4 separate regions of the Homo sapiens genome follow, and regions 2, 3 and 4 are each linked to region 1. The links are contacts of gene promoters, found by promoter capture Hi-C in blood cells and fetal thymus (Javierre and others, 2016). All regions are on one chromosome and are shown on one strand. The core of a region is centred on a gene start or on the middle of the fragment in contact, and the rest is flanking DNA. Distances in the headings are between cores, read along the strand shown. Region 1 holds the start of MEGF8 (multiple EGF like domains 8). Region 2 overlaps GRIK5 (glutamate ionotropic receptor kainate type subunit 5). Region 3 overlaps DMRTC2 (DMRT like family C2). Region 4 overlaps GRIK5 (glutamate ionotropic receptor kainate type subunit 5).

What was found. The method cuts DNA at HindIII sites, captures the fragments that hold promoters and counts their contacts. A CHiCAGO score of 5 or more calls a contact.
Region 2: a fragment that was not itself captured here is called in contact with the fragment with the promoter of MEGF8 in region 1 in 4 of 17 cell types (total CD8 T cells, erythroblasts, naive B cells and 1 more); the score reaches 6.0 in total CD8 T cells.
Region 3: a contact is called between a fragment that was not itself captured here and the fragment with the promoter of MEGF8 in region 1, in 4 of 17 cell types (total CD8 T cells, fetal thymus, total B cells and 1 more). The highest score is 6.0, in total CD8 T cells.
Region 4: a fragment that was not itself captured here is called in contact with the fragment with the promoter of MEGF8 in region 1 in 1 of 17 cell types (fetal thymus); the score reaches 5.3 in fetal thymus.

Annotation. Positions count from the first base shown.
Region 1 is chr19:42,324,173-42,327,254 of GRCh38, reverse strand. MEGF8 (multiple EGF like domains 8) reads right to left here and starts at 1,620. Exons shown (of 42, transcript NM_001271938.2): 1 at 825-1,620. The coding sequence starts at 1,011. It overlaps TMEM145 (transmembrane protein 145), which reads right to left. Exons shown (of 15, transcript NM_173633.3): 15 at 2,191-2,518. The coding sequence ends at 2,438. RefSeq lists silencers at 955-1,024, 1,035-1,104, 1,325-1,464, 1,505-1,694. The HindIII fragment of the contact is 9,695 bases long and covers 1-3,082 here.
Region 2 is chr19:42,037,333-42,040,442 of GRCh38, reverse strand. All of the region lies in intron 12 of GRIK5 (glutamate ionotropic receptor kainate type subunit 5), which reads left to right. Among named protein-coding and RNA genes, the nearest start is that of GRIK5, 31 kb to the left of the region's middle. The HindIII fragment of the contact is 2,122 bases long and covers 260-2,381 here.
Region 3 is chr19:41,850,396-41,853,752 of GRCh38, reverse strand. It overlaps DMRTC2 (DMRT like family C2), which reads right to left. Exons shown (of 9, transcript NM_001040283.3): 8 at 3,053-3,227; 9 at 1,420-2,169. The coding sequence ends at 2,057. Among named protein-coding and RNA genes, the nearest start is that of DMRTC2, 7.0 kb to the right of the region's middle. The HindIII fragment of the contact is 1,104 bases long and covers 803-1,906 here.
Region 4 is chr19:42,005,337-42,008,380 of GRCh38, reverse strand. GRIK5 (glutamate ionotropic receptor kainate type subunit 5) reads left to right here. Exons shown (of 20, transcript NM_002088.5): 16 at 1,571-1,736; 17 at 2,433-2,658. Among named protein-coding and RNA genes, the nearest start is that of ATP1A3, 13 kb to the right of the region's middle. The HindIII fragment of the contact is 1,642 bases long and covers 472-2,113 here.

The DNA.
Region 1 (3,082 bases), core at 371-2,870:
GTCTGGCACATGAATGACTGAAGAAAAATGCTTTTATTGAAGTACTTCACAAATAACAACAACAATAATCCTAATGCCATTTATTGAACAGTTACTATATGCCACACATCAGGCATGTTAAATACCTGTTTTCATTTCATTCCAACAACTCTATGAGGTGAGTACTGTTGTTATCCCATTTGTGGGGGAAGGAAACAGAACCTCAGAGAAAGAAAACCACCTGCTCAAAGTCACAAAGCTAATAATAAGAAGCCAGGCACAGTGGCTCACACCTACAATCCCAACACTTTGGGAGGCTGAGGTGCGAGGATCGTTTGAGCCCAAGAGTTCAGGACTAGCCTGGGCGACATGGTGAGACTCTGTCTCTACACACTCAGTTACTTGGGAGGCTGAGGTGGGAGGATCACTTGAGCCCAGGAGGTCGAGGCTGCAGTAAGTAAATTGTGTTGGTACCATTGCACTCCAGCCTGGGTGACAGAGTGAGGCCCCCATCTCAAAAAAAAAAAAAAAAAAAAGTAGTAGTAGTAGAACCAAATTCAAAGCCAAATGATTGGACCCAGACCCTGAGTTCTTAACAGTTACTCAGAAGGCCCGGCACTGATGCTCCTGTCTTGTAATTGTAAATCTGGGTGTAGGTGCATCTCCCCCACCAGACTTGGAGGCCTTCCAGGGCAGGGCCCAGGTTGGCTGCAACCCTGGGTGTCAGGCATTTTAGAGCAAAAGGCCTGGACCAGAACCGAGCTCTGGGAATGTGGTGAGTGGATGAATGCACACATGAATGAACTACCAGCGAATTAGTGAGTGACCCACGCGGCCCCACTCACCCTCGATGAGCCACTCGCAGTTGCCATTGACGCTGTAGTTGCCCGCACCATCCGTCACGAAGCCTGGCGCCTCCCGCAGCACCTGCCGCTGCCCCTTGCAGTCCCCCGCCCGGGCCCCAGGGGACAGCGACCCCAGCACGGCCAAGGCCAAAACCAGTGCCATGGCCAGAACCTTGCCCAGGGCCATCGCCGCCTCCTGCACTGACCCTTAGAGCGGGGACAGGCCGTAAAAACCTGGAGAGGACCCTCTACCCGGGGTGAGGCCCTGCAAATGCGACCTCTATAGGCATAACATGACCTTGTAGATCGAAGAGGTCCCGGAGACCCGGCAGTCCCGGCGAAGGGTACGGCCACTGCTGACAGGCTCTGGAAGCCGAGGGCTGAGCCCTATAGAGCGATGGAAGGCCCTGTATATGGAGTCATTATGGACGGGGCCGAACCCTAGGGACCGTAGGAGTCCCCTATAGACACAGGGCTCCATAGGGGGCCGATCCCATGAACAGTGCCCAGCATTACGGACTCAGGCTGCTGCAGGCCAAACGGACCTTATAGACGGGTGGGTCCCCAGGGGGCGAAGGGCTCTACGGCCCGGCAGGAGCCTCCATAGAGGCTGCGGGCCGGGACAGGCTAGGTTCGGATGGTCCAGGAGAGACTCCTCCAGCCGGGGGCGGGGCGCGAGCGGGTGCCGGGGGCGGAGCCCGTCTTCAGGGGTTCGGGCCTGGACCCCACAGACCCAATCCCTTTGCTCACCCACCCTCGCCTCCCTCCGAAGCCGGATGGGCCAGATCAGAGAGACGAGGGGACGCTTGGGCCAGAGCGGCCGCGGGAAGACCCGCTGTGGGAGGGCGAGGGGGCGGGAGCCGAGCAGCCGCTGTGGGAGGGACGGCGAAGAGGAGGCGAGAAGTTACAGAGCGGCCGGTCAGAGCGGCCCTGGGAGGACTGCGGAGCGCCCAACCCCAACCCTCCATAAAGGGAGACTTCCGGGGAAATCCCCGCCCATTTGTTCCCAACCGCATGCGCAGCAGCGTCCTCCTGGAGGGAGAGAAATACACATATGCGCAGTGCTAAGATCGTAACCCAAACTCTGGGTGCCTGTGGTTCAGCAAAGCATGGGCCACTGGAGGGCGCCTCTACCTCTGAGTGAGGAAAGGAAGGCAAAAATAAAGGAGCGGTGCAAGACCCTGCTAGATGTTTGATCATCTTCAATGTTCCCACATTCTGGGGCAACATAAAGATCAGGTTATACAGGCCCCTGCCTCCGGTTCCAAATTCCCATTTCACAGATGGACACACTGAGGTCCCGAGCCTGACATAGTTCTGGCTCAGCCCCGCCGCTGAACACCATCAAGATGCAAAAGAAGCCATGTTATAGATAAAAACGAATCCTTTTTTATTTTGGCAAGAAGGGGTAAAATGTCTTTCTGCCAGGGACCCGAGGGAAGGCCCCCGGAATGGAGATGCGGCAGATGGAGTACGGGTCCGAGGTCACAGATCCGAGGGAGGGTTTCAGGGTCGAGACCAGCATCGCAATATCCATCCCGGGGTCGCAGAGTCCTGGAGAGTCACAGGCAGGGTCCCGGCGGTCACCACGGGTGTTCCGGAGTCCAGCGGGGTCAGAGGTCTCGAAGGGGGCCAGGGGGCCGGAGGTCACGGAACAGCGGGAGCCCAGAATCCGGCGCCGCTCGGGGCAGGGGCTGAGGGAGGGGACGGGGAGAGCGGCTCCCGCGGGACCGTTTGGCACAGAGGGGAGGGGGGCGGGACGCAGCGTACCCAACCTGGGCGCGCGGGGTGGGAAGGGTCGGGAAGGCCGGGGATGGGCGAGCTCTCGGGCCGGGATAAAGCAGGGGTCCGGAGCCCGGCCGGGGCCCGGTCATGGCCCATGGGGCAGGGGCGGGCAGGGGTGCTCAGACCGGGGGTGCAGTGCCCCCGGCCGTGTGCATGCTGAAGTATTCGGTGAAGCCGGTGTGCGGCGCTGCCGTCTGGGGCACGAGCGGCTGGTAGGGCGGCGTCGGGCCGTCCCAGCCCGAGTCGGCCGCCTTGGGGAACCGAGCGGGAAGTGGGGGGGAGGCTGCGCCCGGCTCGGCCATGGTCACCACGCGGCCCCTCGGGGCCACCGCCGCCGCCACCGCTGTCTCCTCCACCTGCTTCCCGGCCTGGGAGGGGGGTCAGGGTCAGAGGCCGTCCGGGACCCTCGGGGGGCAGATGCGGCCCCGAAGGCCCGTCCCCCTCCCCCGGAGAACCCTTCCACCCCAGGTGTG
Region 2 (3,110 bases), core at 71-2,570, 290 kb after region 1:
TAGTCACGTAGGCTCAGAAATATTCTTTCATCTGGTATCCCAGAAATAAGCAGGCTCCAAGGGAGTAGCCCTGCACCTGAAGTCACTCTAAACTGGATGCCCTTTTTTCACCAACAGAGAAGTCTGGAACAGTTCTTATTTACAGCTGTCTGACCTTTGTGTCTCAGGGCCTACTCAGTAGGGTAGGGTGAGAGGATTTGGGGCCTGGGGCCAGCAAAGTGTGGCAGCTGAGAGTGTCTGTGGTTGGCTGTTTAAAGCTTAGCTCTGCTGTGCACTGGTTGTGTGGCTTTGGGCAAGTGCTTAACATTTCTTTAGGTTGTAGTTTGTTCAACTGTAAAATTGGGGAATAACAGCCCTTTAGCACATAGGGTTGTTTTGAAGAACAACATGCAGTGAAGAACTTAGAACAGGGCCTGGTGCATAGTGGGTGCTGTATGCGTGTGTCCTTTTTTTTTTTTCCTTTGAGACTGGGTCTCTCTCTGTTGCCCAGGCTGGAGCGCAGTAGTGCAATCACAGCTCACTGCAGCCTCCACCTCCTGGGCTCAAGCGATCCTCCCACCTCAGCCTCCCGAGTTGCTGGGACTATAGGCATATGCCATAATGCCTAGGTAATTTTTGTGTTTTTTGTAGAGATGGGGTCTGGCCCTGTTGCCTAGGCTGGTCTTGAACTCCTGGGCTTAAGCAATCCTCCCACCTCAGCCTTCCAAAGTGCTGGGATTATACTATTTTTATTATTGTTATTATTCATACCAGCATGGCCAGCACATACATAGATTTGTGTGTTCATCCATTTTCCATTCAGCCAATGTTTGTTGAGTGCCTACTGTATACCAAGCCCTGTGCTATACCCTGGGGATACCATGGTGAACAAGCCCGATGTGCTCTTACTGAGTGGGCTAAAGGGTTTGGGCCTCAGCAGAAAGCCCATGGGATGCCCTTGAAGAGTTTTGTTTTTGTTTTTGTTTTGAGACGGACTCTGGCTCTGCTGCCCAGGCAGGCTGGAGTGCCATGGGGTGATCTTGGCTCACTGCAACCTCTGCCTCGTGGGTTCAAATGATTCTCCTGCCTCAGCCTCCTGAGTAGCTGGGACTACAGGCGCATGCCACCACACCTGGCTAATTTTTGTATTTTTAGTAGAGATGGGTTTCGCCATGTTGGCCAGGCTGGTCTCAAACTCCTGAACTCAGGTGATCCACCTGCCTCAGCCTCCCAGAGTGCTGGGATTACAGGCATGAGCCACCATGCCCGGCCACCCTTGAAGGGTTTTGATCTGGCTCAAGTGAATTGGCCCTGGGGTTGGGGGAAGCAGTGGTAACAGGAAGACCAGTGAGGAGATAAGGAATGAGCTGGTGGGCCTCAGGCGGGAGAACGTCAGAGCTAGAGACTAGGGGAAGGGCTAAAGAGCACCAGGGCTTGGTGACTGCCTAGGGTGGGGGATGCAGGAGAGGACAGGAGGGAGAGCATTCCTCCTGTGTCTGGCTTGGGCATCTGGGTGATGGCAATGACATTTACAGGGAGAACACTGGAGGAGGAGCTGGAGCGTGAAGGATAGGCGGAGTTTGGCCTTGCCCTGCTGTGGGATAGCCGAGTGTGCCGAGCTGCACAGGAATAGTCACCACCGTCATCACAACAGCAGCAGCTGTCATTTGTTGATTTCACACCATGTGCGAGGAACTTTTCAAGTGTTACTTAACATAATTTTCATAGCAGTCCTTCATGGCCTGAGGATCACTGCCCAGTGTGAGATCTGGAGTCCCCAGTGCACAGGGCTGCAGCCAGGTGTGTCTGACTTAAGGCCCGTGCCCTTTCCAGCCCTCCAGCTGGGAACTTGGGAAGCTCGGAGTACACTGATGGAGTGGCACGCTGTGCCAGGCCCTTGTCTGAGCTTTCTGACTTGTCTCCATCCTTGACTCCTCATGGCCACCCAGTGAGAGAGGGACTGGTATTAGCCCCGTTTTCTCAAATGTACAGTGAGGCATCAAGGTTTCATGTCCAGGCCCATGGCTAGTGACCAGGAGAGCCAAGGTGGGCACCCCATCAGGGTGGCCCAGAGCTGGTGAGTGACTTCCAGATGGAAGACAGCCTGGGGCACCACCATCCTGCCAGTCACCCCTGGGCCAGGCACAGGTCTCCTTGGCCTGTCTTGAATTATGACCCATTTTTTCCACCCAGTGGCCATGGCTGACATTGGCCTTCTCCCTGCCATCACTGCCATGGTGTGAATTCAGGTCCCACCCCTCTCATCAGCCTCCTTACTGGCCTCCTGGCTTCTAGTCTCTCCACTCCCCAGCTTGTCCTCCAATAGAACCTTTCTACAGTGTGAGTCTGATCTGTCACTTGTATGCTTTAACTGAAGCCCCTGAGGCCCTCAGGATAAAGCTTAGCCTTCAAGGGCAAAGAAGATCTTAGGTCAGGGTCCCAGGAAGCTGACTCTGAGATGGAGATGTAGAGGCAGGAGGTGTGATGGCGTGCCCCTGGAAACCTGCCCTGTGCAGGAGGGAAGGAAGCAGGCTTGGGCAGAGGAGTTGAGCTGCGCTGCAGTCACAACTGGGCCTTAGCTGTCCCACAGGCAGCTCTGGAGCTGAGCTGGCCGTCAAGGACCTCCCCCTGTGGTAAGGGTGCCAGGCCTTTAAGCACCCACTGATATGTCACTGGACGTGGGCTGCTCTTGGGGAGAGTCAGGACTTTGGGTGAGGGGACGCTCTTCTACTGACAGAGCTGAGAGCCATCAGCCACCTACACCCTGGGCAGCTGAGGCAATGAGTGCCCCACTCCTGAAACAGAGTCTGGGTAGCCACCATGGAGTCCACTATAGCAGTGCACTGGTTAGGAGCCAGAAGGAGCCAGCTTCAGGTCCCCAGTGCTCCCACATGATCCCTGCAAAGCCACTTATCTCTGAAGGTCAGTCACTCCTCTTGAAAAGGGGCTAATGTTACCTCCCTCACAGAGGGTTTTTTTGTTTGTTTGTTTTTGTTTTTCTTTTTGAGGCAGAGTCTCACTCTGTCGCCCAGGCTGGAGTGCAGTGGCGTGATCTCGGCTCACTGCAACCTCTGCCTCCAGGGTTCAAGCGATTTTCCTGCCTCAGCCTCCTAAGTAGCTGGGATTATAGG
Region 3 (3,357 bases), core at 105-2,604, 470 kb after region 1:
AGGCAGGTCTATTAAGGAGCAATCATATATCTAAGTTATAGCTAAGGGGAGGGAAGAAGGGTGTGAAGCCGACTTTGGTCTCCTGATATCTCAGTATCTCCTGAGAAGTGCTGCAGGTTTGTTACTCTGTACTCTGCTAGGGAGGAGAAGAAACCCACCCTCTCAAAATCCCAAATAAGAAATAACAAGTTGTAATTGGATGTCATCACCATCAATCATCTTGAGTAAAACAAGGGGTGTAGGTAACATCAGGAAAAAGAATCAGTGATCAAGCACATCCCTTGAGCCCCTTCTAAGGGTGGGAATGGGAAGGGGGTCTCCAGGCTTCATGTCTTTGGAATAGCTCAACAGGTTTTCCTATGTACGGAATGGTTCAAGGAGAAGGACTTGACACCAGAGGACTGAGAAACAAATGCAGGTAAGATCTTATTCTTAATGATATCTTGAGGAGAAAAATAAAAGACTTTTTTGAAAAACTCTTGACTTGTATGTATCTTCTGGAGTCCTGATTGGGGAAAGGAGTGGTGCATCTTTCATTCTATGCTTTTATTTATTTGTTTTTATAGAGACAGGGTCTCCCCGTGTTACTCAGGCTGGTCTCAAACTCCTGGGCTCAAGCGATCCTCCTGCCTTGGCCTCCCAAAGTGCTGGGATTACAGGTGTGAGCTATCACACCCGGCCCAATGCTTTATAAACATTATTAACTAATTTGGAGCCTGGCAAAGAGAAGGAACCCTCCTCTGATCTCTGCCTAGAAATTTCCCCTAAAACACTTGGGCAAGTTACTTTACCTCTTTAAGCTTGTTTCTTCACTTGTAAAATGGGAACCATCCTGCATAACTTCCAGGGTTGCTGTGAAGATATGTGAATCAAATGGAGTGGGCACTCAATAAATGGTAATAAATGTTTCTTAACCTTTTATGGATCCTTCGAAACTCAGACACGTGAACCTCCCTAGTTGAGGAAAAACTTGTGATAAAGACTAACTCGATTCTTTCTATTCTGGTTAGCCTCAATTTCCCCATCTGGAAAATGTATCAAATTGGTATTCCACTGGCCAAAGCTAGCCTGAAAATATGTTTTATTTGGCACGTATAGAATTTAAAGAAGAAAACTGAGCCAACATTTGAAAATTAAGATGTTTTACATGGAAATCTAGTTTTCCAGTTTCTCTTAAAAAATCAGAAGATGGAGCAACACTGAGTCCACATTCCCGCCTGGCAGTAATCTGCTAGGGCCAAAAGGAGGCTGCTCCTTAGGCAAGGCATCCATTCTCAGTTTGCCAGGGTCCATCTGGCCTTCTTTACTCATTTATTTGATCTGCTCAGCCCTGTAGGCATTTCGATTTGTAGCCCCTCTAGACAGCTGGAAACTGTCTATGCCTGGCACAGAGCGGGCAATTAATCAGTGAATCCCCCATTATTTCTTTACATCATTTTTTTTTATTTGGACAAAGAAAAAAATCCAAGTTTGTTTTCATCTATGGTAGCTATTGGATAACAGATTTTTCACTTTGAGAAGCGAAATGAACAAGTCCTTTCTGTCAGTCAGGATAGACTAGGTTAGGCTGTGGTAACACTCTCCAAATCTCAGTGGCTTACAACAACAAAGGTTTATTTCTTGCTTACTCACACAAACCTAGACACAAAATGAAAACACTCTCCTGTTTTCACATGCATGGAGACAGACATGAATGCATAGGCATTTACAGAATCATGGAATCCTGGGATGTAAACTCATGCAAACACGTTTATAGATACTGGTCAGCTTAAATAGCACAACTCTCTCTTTATTGGGGATTTCAAGAGATCCCAGGACCCAAGAAGGGTACAAGAATATCCACTGTCAGCCAAGGAAATGCCCACACTACCAAAGGAACTGAAAGCTAATGAAGCACCTGAAAGCTTAAACAAACAAACAAACAAACAAACAAAAAAGCCCGAAGCTTGTACTACATTAAATTCCATGCATAAATCCTTAAGTAAGACACTAAATATACAGTGCCAGCAGGCTGTCACCTCCCTGCCATAGCAAGACAGCCTCCATCTCTGGGTTTCTAGCTCAGGAGGGAGATGGACCCCAGACGGCCAATATGCAGAGCAACAGAGGGGGCTGGGCTGGGTCGAAGACAGGGGCCAACAGGCTGGAATCCTCTTCCTCCAGCAGGAGCTACAGGCAAGAAGGAAGGGGCAGGATCAGGTCACACCTGTTTTTCCTTCTAGCAACCCCCTCTTTTTACCGAATCCAATCCAGGCCTCATCATTGTTCTCCTGGATTATTTCACAGACCTCCTTGCTAATTTTCCCACCTCCAGTCTTGCCTCCTCCAAACCGTCCATCAAAGCCACCCACTTGTCTTTCTAAAGCTCAGGGTCTCTGAATTTGTCCTTGCTTAGTTCAGAAACGTTCCCTGGCTCCCCTTCACATACAGTTGCTGTTCTAGACACCTAAGCCTGGCATGCCAGATCTCCACCATCAGAAGCCTCTCCAGCCTCCTTTCCCTCTGTTCTAGCATTTCCTCCAGGCCAGTCTGCCCAATCCACTATTTGGACAAGAGAATTCGCAGCTTTCCCTGTCTGTCCCCCTAGGTGTTTCTCACTCTTCAAGGTTCCTCCAATCTTCTTCAGGTTTGTCACTGAGCCTTGTGAAGGCATCCAATTTCCCTAACTAGAACGTAAGCTCCTTGAAGGCACTTATCAGACCTCCTCCCAGGCCAGACCCCACTTCAGACTTCAGCAGGCAGCCTGGGTCCAGAGACAGAGCATTGGGTTCCCTGCCACTGTCTCACTATATGCCCTTGGGCAAGTCCCTGCCTTTCTCAGTGCCCCACTTTCCTTGATATCAAGAAATTTGCTGTCGAGTGCCAAACTGATAAAAAGGATTCACTGAATAACTCTCAACTGCAATCCCAGGGGCCAGGCTGAGGAGCTTGGGGTCCTGGGCCTGAAGACGTTCAACCTGTCGACCCCCTCATCTCCTTGGTTAGTCCCTGTGTACTTCAGTGATCTCCATTTCCCAGCCATCCCTATCCATCCTCTCCTTTCATGGCCCACCTGGTGGGCCACAGGGGTGAAGCAGGGAGATCCAGGCAGGGTTGGGGGGCACAGAAGGGGTCACACGAGGAGCCTGGGATGAATCTTTCAGCCCCACGAGGGCTTCAGCTGCCTCTTGCTGCAGCTGCCACTCTGAGGGGCCAGATGTCCGGGCCAGGCACGAGGCTCCAGAGGCCTGCAAGGGAAAGGGAGACAAGCAGACTGGGAACCCCCGCTTCTGCCCACCCTCTAAGTGTTCCTCAGCCCCTGCTTCCTTCAGTTTCCTGCTTTTTCCTTCCCCAGGCTCAACCTCCTCCCAGGGCCCT
Region 4 (3,044 bases), core at 43-2,542, 320 kb after region 1:
TGCTGGGATTACAGGTGTGAGCCACCGTGCCCAACCTGGTATTTTTTTAAAAAATTATGTAATAGGCCGGGCACAGTGGCTCATGCCTGTAATCCCAGCACCTTGGGTGGGCGAGGTGGGCAGGTCACCTGAGGTCAGGAGTTCAAGGCCAACCTGCCAACGTGGTGAAACCTCATCTCTACTAAAAATACAAACATTAGTCAGGCGTGCTGGCAGGTGCCTGTAATCCCAACTACTCAGGAAGCTGAGGCGGGAGAATCACTTGAACCCGGGAGTGGCCAAGATCACACCACTGCACTCCAGCCTGGGTGACAGAGTGAGACTCTGTCTCAAGAAAAAAAAAAAAATTACATAACAGACATTGTTTACATTGCTGAATATATTTTTTTACAGAGTATTTATAAACTTTTTCTGGAATCTAGTTAGGTTACTTGTGAATTACTTTGATACTTCTAGGCCTGTTTTTAAGCTTTTTTAGTGCAGCTTTAGCATTGCCTTTATTCTAGGGCTAACTTAATCCTATTTCTAGTATGTTACACTTTTGGGTCTCTACTGAATGTCTCATGTATTCAATGAAATCTTTCTACTCTGGCTGCAGGGAGCTCAAAAGACTCTCAGCCCTGTGTCAACTCTAAGAATTGTTTTCTCCTTGAAAGTTGCTCTTGTCCAGCCCCACAGAGTTTCACCCCATGCATGCACAGATTGATATTCAGCCAAAGACTCAAGGGGACCACCGGTTTCTGAATCCTCCCTCTCTTTGCAGCTCCCTCCTCTCAGGCACTCTATCCCCCAAATTCCAGCCATGTTGGCCTGCCTGATCACCAGTCTCCGTCTCTGCAACTCAGCAGGATTGCTGGGCTGTTTGGGCTTCCCTTCCTATAAATTAAATCCAGCCAAGCAGCCTGGACAATAAGACTCATTTTGTTTCTCTTCTCAGGGATCACAGTTCTATGATGTCTCTTGTCCTATGTTTTAAATAGTTTCCTGGCCGGGCGTGGTCGCTCACTCCTGTAATCCCAGCACTTTGGGAGGCTGAGGCAGGTGGATCACCTGAGGTCAGGAGTTCGAGACCAGCCTGGCCAACATGGTGAAACCCCGTCTCTGCTAAAAATACAAAAATTAGCCGGGCGTGATGGTGGGCACCTGTAATCTCAGCTACTTGGGAGGCTGAGGCAGGAGAATCACTTGAACCCCAAAGGTAGAGGTTGCAGTGAGCTGAGATCGTGCCACTGCACTCCATCCTGGCTGACAAAGCAAGATCTGTCTCAAAAAAAAAAAAAAAAGAAAAAAGTTTCCTGTATTCTATCCAGCTCTTTAGCTGTTTATGGTGGGAGGGTATTTCCAGACCATCTTACTCTTTTATATCTGGAAGTAGAAGTCTCCGGATGCAATATTTACAACCAGGAAGTCTGGCTTCAGAATCCACACTCCCCGCTTCTGCACCCAGCAGTCACTGAGTCTTCCAGATGCTGGGGTCACTTGGGAGGGGCACCACCAATGGGGGGCATGGCCACGGGGGCAGGTCAGCAGGGGTGACTCCAGCCCGTGACTCACCCCTCCCACCCTTCAGGTGGGCCTTCACCTTGATCATCATCTCCTCCTACACGGCCAACCTGGCCGCCTTCCTCACCGTGCAGCGCATGGAGGTGCCTGTGGAGTCGGCCGATGACCTGGCAGATCAGACCAACATCGAGTATGGCACCATCCACGCCGGCTCCACCATGACCTTCTTCCAGGTGGGGCCACCAGAACCTCTCAGGCGTGGTGTTGGGATCCCTGCCATGCAAAGCAGCTCAGGATGGGTCTGGGCAGGGTCTCCTGGGTCAGAGGGACTGATTGTCAGTGACAGCCTGGAGGCTGGGGAGCAGAAAACACACATGTGCTGTCATGGGGCTCGCAGCTGGCTGGCTAGGGAACTGGGGAATGAGGGCAGGGAGGCATATGTGGTATCAAATGTCAATGTCATATGGGCCAAATGGGATCAAGGAGGCTGCTGGAAGGGTCGGGACCAGGAATATGGGCTGACAGAGAGAAGGGAAGGCCCTTCAAGGTGAAAAGTGCTTGATCTTTTGTATTTTGGGGTGGTGGGAAGGAAAGAAGAGGAAAGCAAGCTTGGCAGGGAGGTCCTAGTGGTCTAAAGGAGGCCTGAGTTGGGCAGCGGCCACCGGCTGGAGGGTTAAGGGGAAGGAGGTGGAGGTGCACTCACCGGGCCCCCCAGGTGGGTGGTGGGCACAGTGGCTGTGGGGATGACTTGGACCTGGCCTGGACAGTTTGTCCATCTCCTCTCTCTCCTCTACCTTTGGCTCTGTCTTCCTTTGATCACCTTGCATTCTCCTGGGTTGAGGGAGACTTCCTGGAGGATGGGAAGGGCTCGGGGAAAGGAAGCGGCTGGAAAGACCCTCCCATCTTCCCCTTGTGATCCTCCTGCCCAGAATTCACGGTACCAAACGTACCAGCGCATGTGGAACTACATGCAGTCGAAGCAGCCCAGCGTGTTCGTCAAGAGCACAGAAGAGGGCATTGCCCGCGTCCTCAACTCCCGCTACGCCTTCCTGCTCGAGTCCACCATGAACGAATACCACCGGCGCCTCAACTGCAACCTCACCCAGATCGGGGGACTCCTCGACACCAAGGGCTACGGCATTGGCATGCCGCTGGGTACGGCACAGCACGGTGTGGAACACAGCAGGGCCGTGGGCATCCAAAACCACCTGTGAGCAGGCCCAGGACCGGGCCAGGCACCCCCGAGGCAGGCTGGGTGTGTTGCATGTGGCCTCCTGGCTGTATGGTCTTGGGCAGGCGACATCACCGTCCTGAGCCTCTGTACCCCCAACCTGCAAAACCAGGCCTAGCAGCAATCCAGCCCTCCCAGAGCTGTTGGGAGAATTCAGTGAGACTGTGTATACAATTCAGTATATGTGGGTGGTGGGGCTTGCTGTCTTCCCCCAAGGGCCCTGTGGGGGTGAGGACCTGGTCTTGTTTCCTATTTCTTGGAAAAATCCTATAGCCTGGCTCAGAGCAGGTGCTTGAAAAATGCTTGTAAG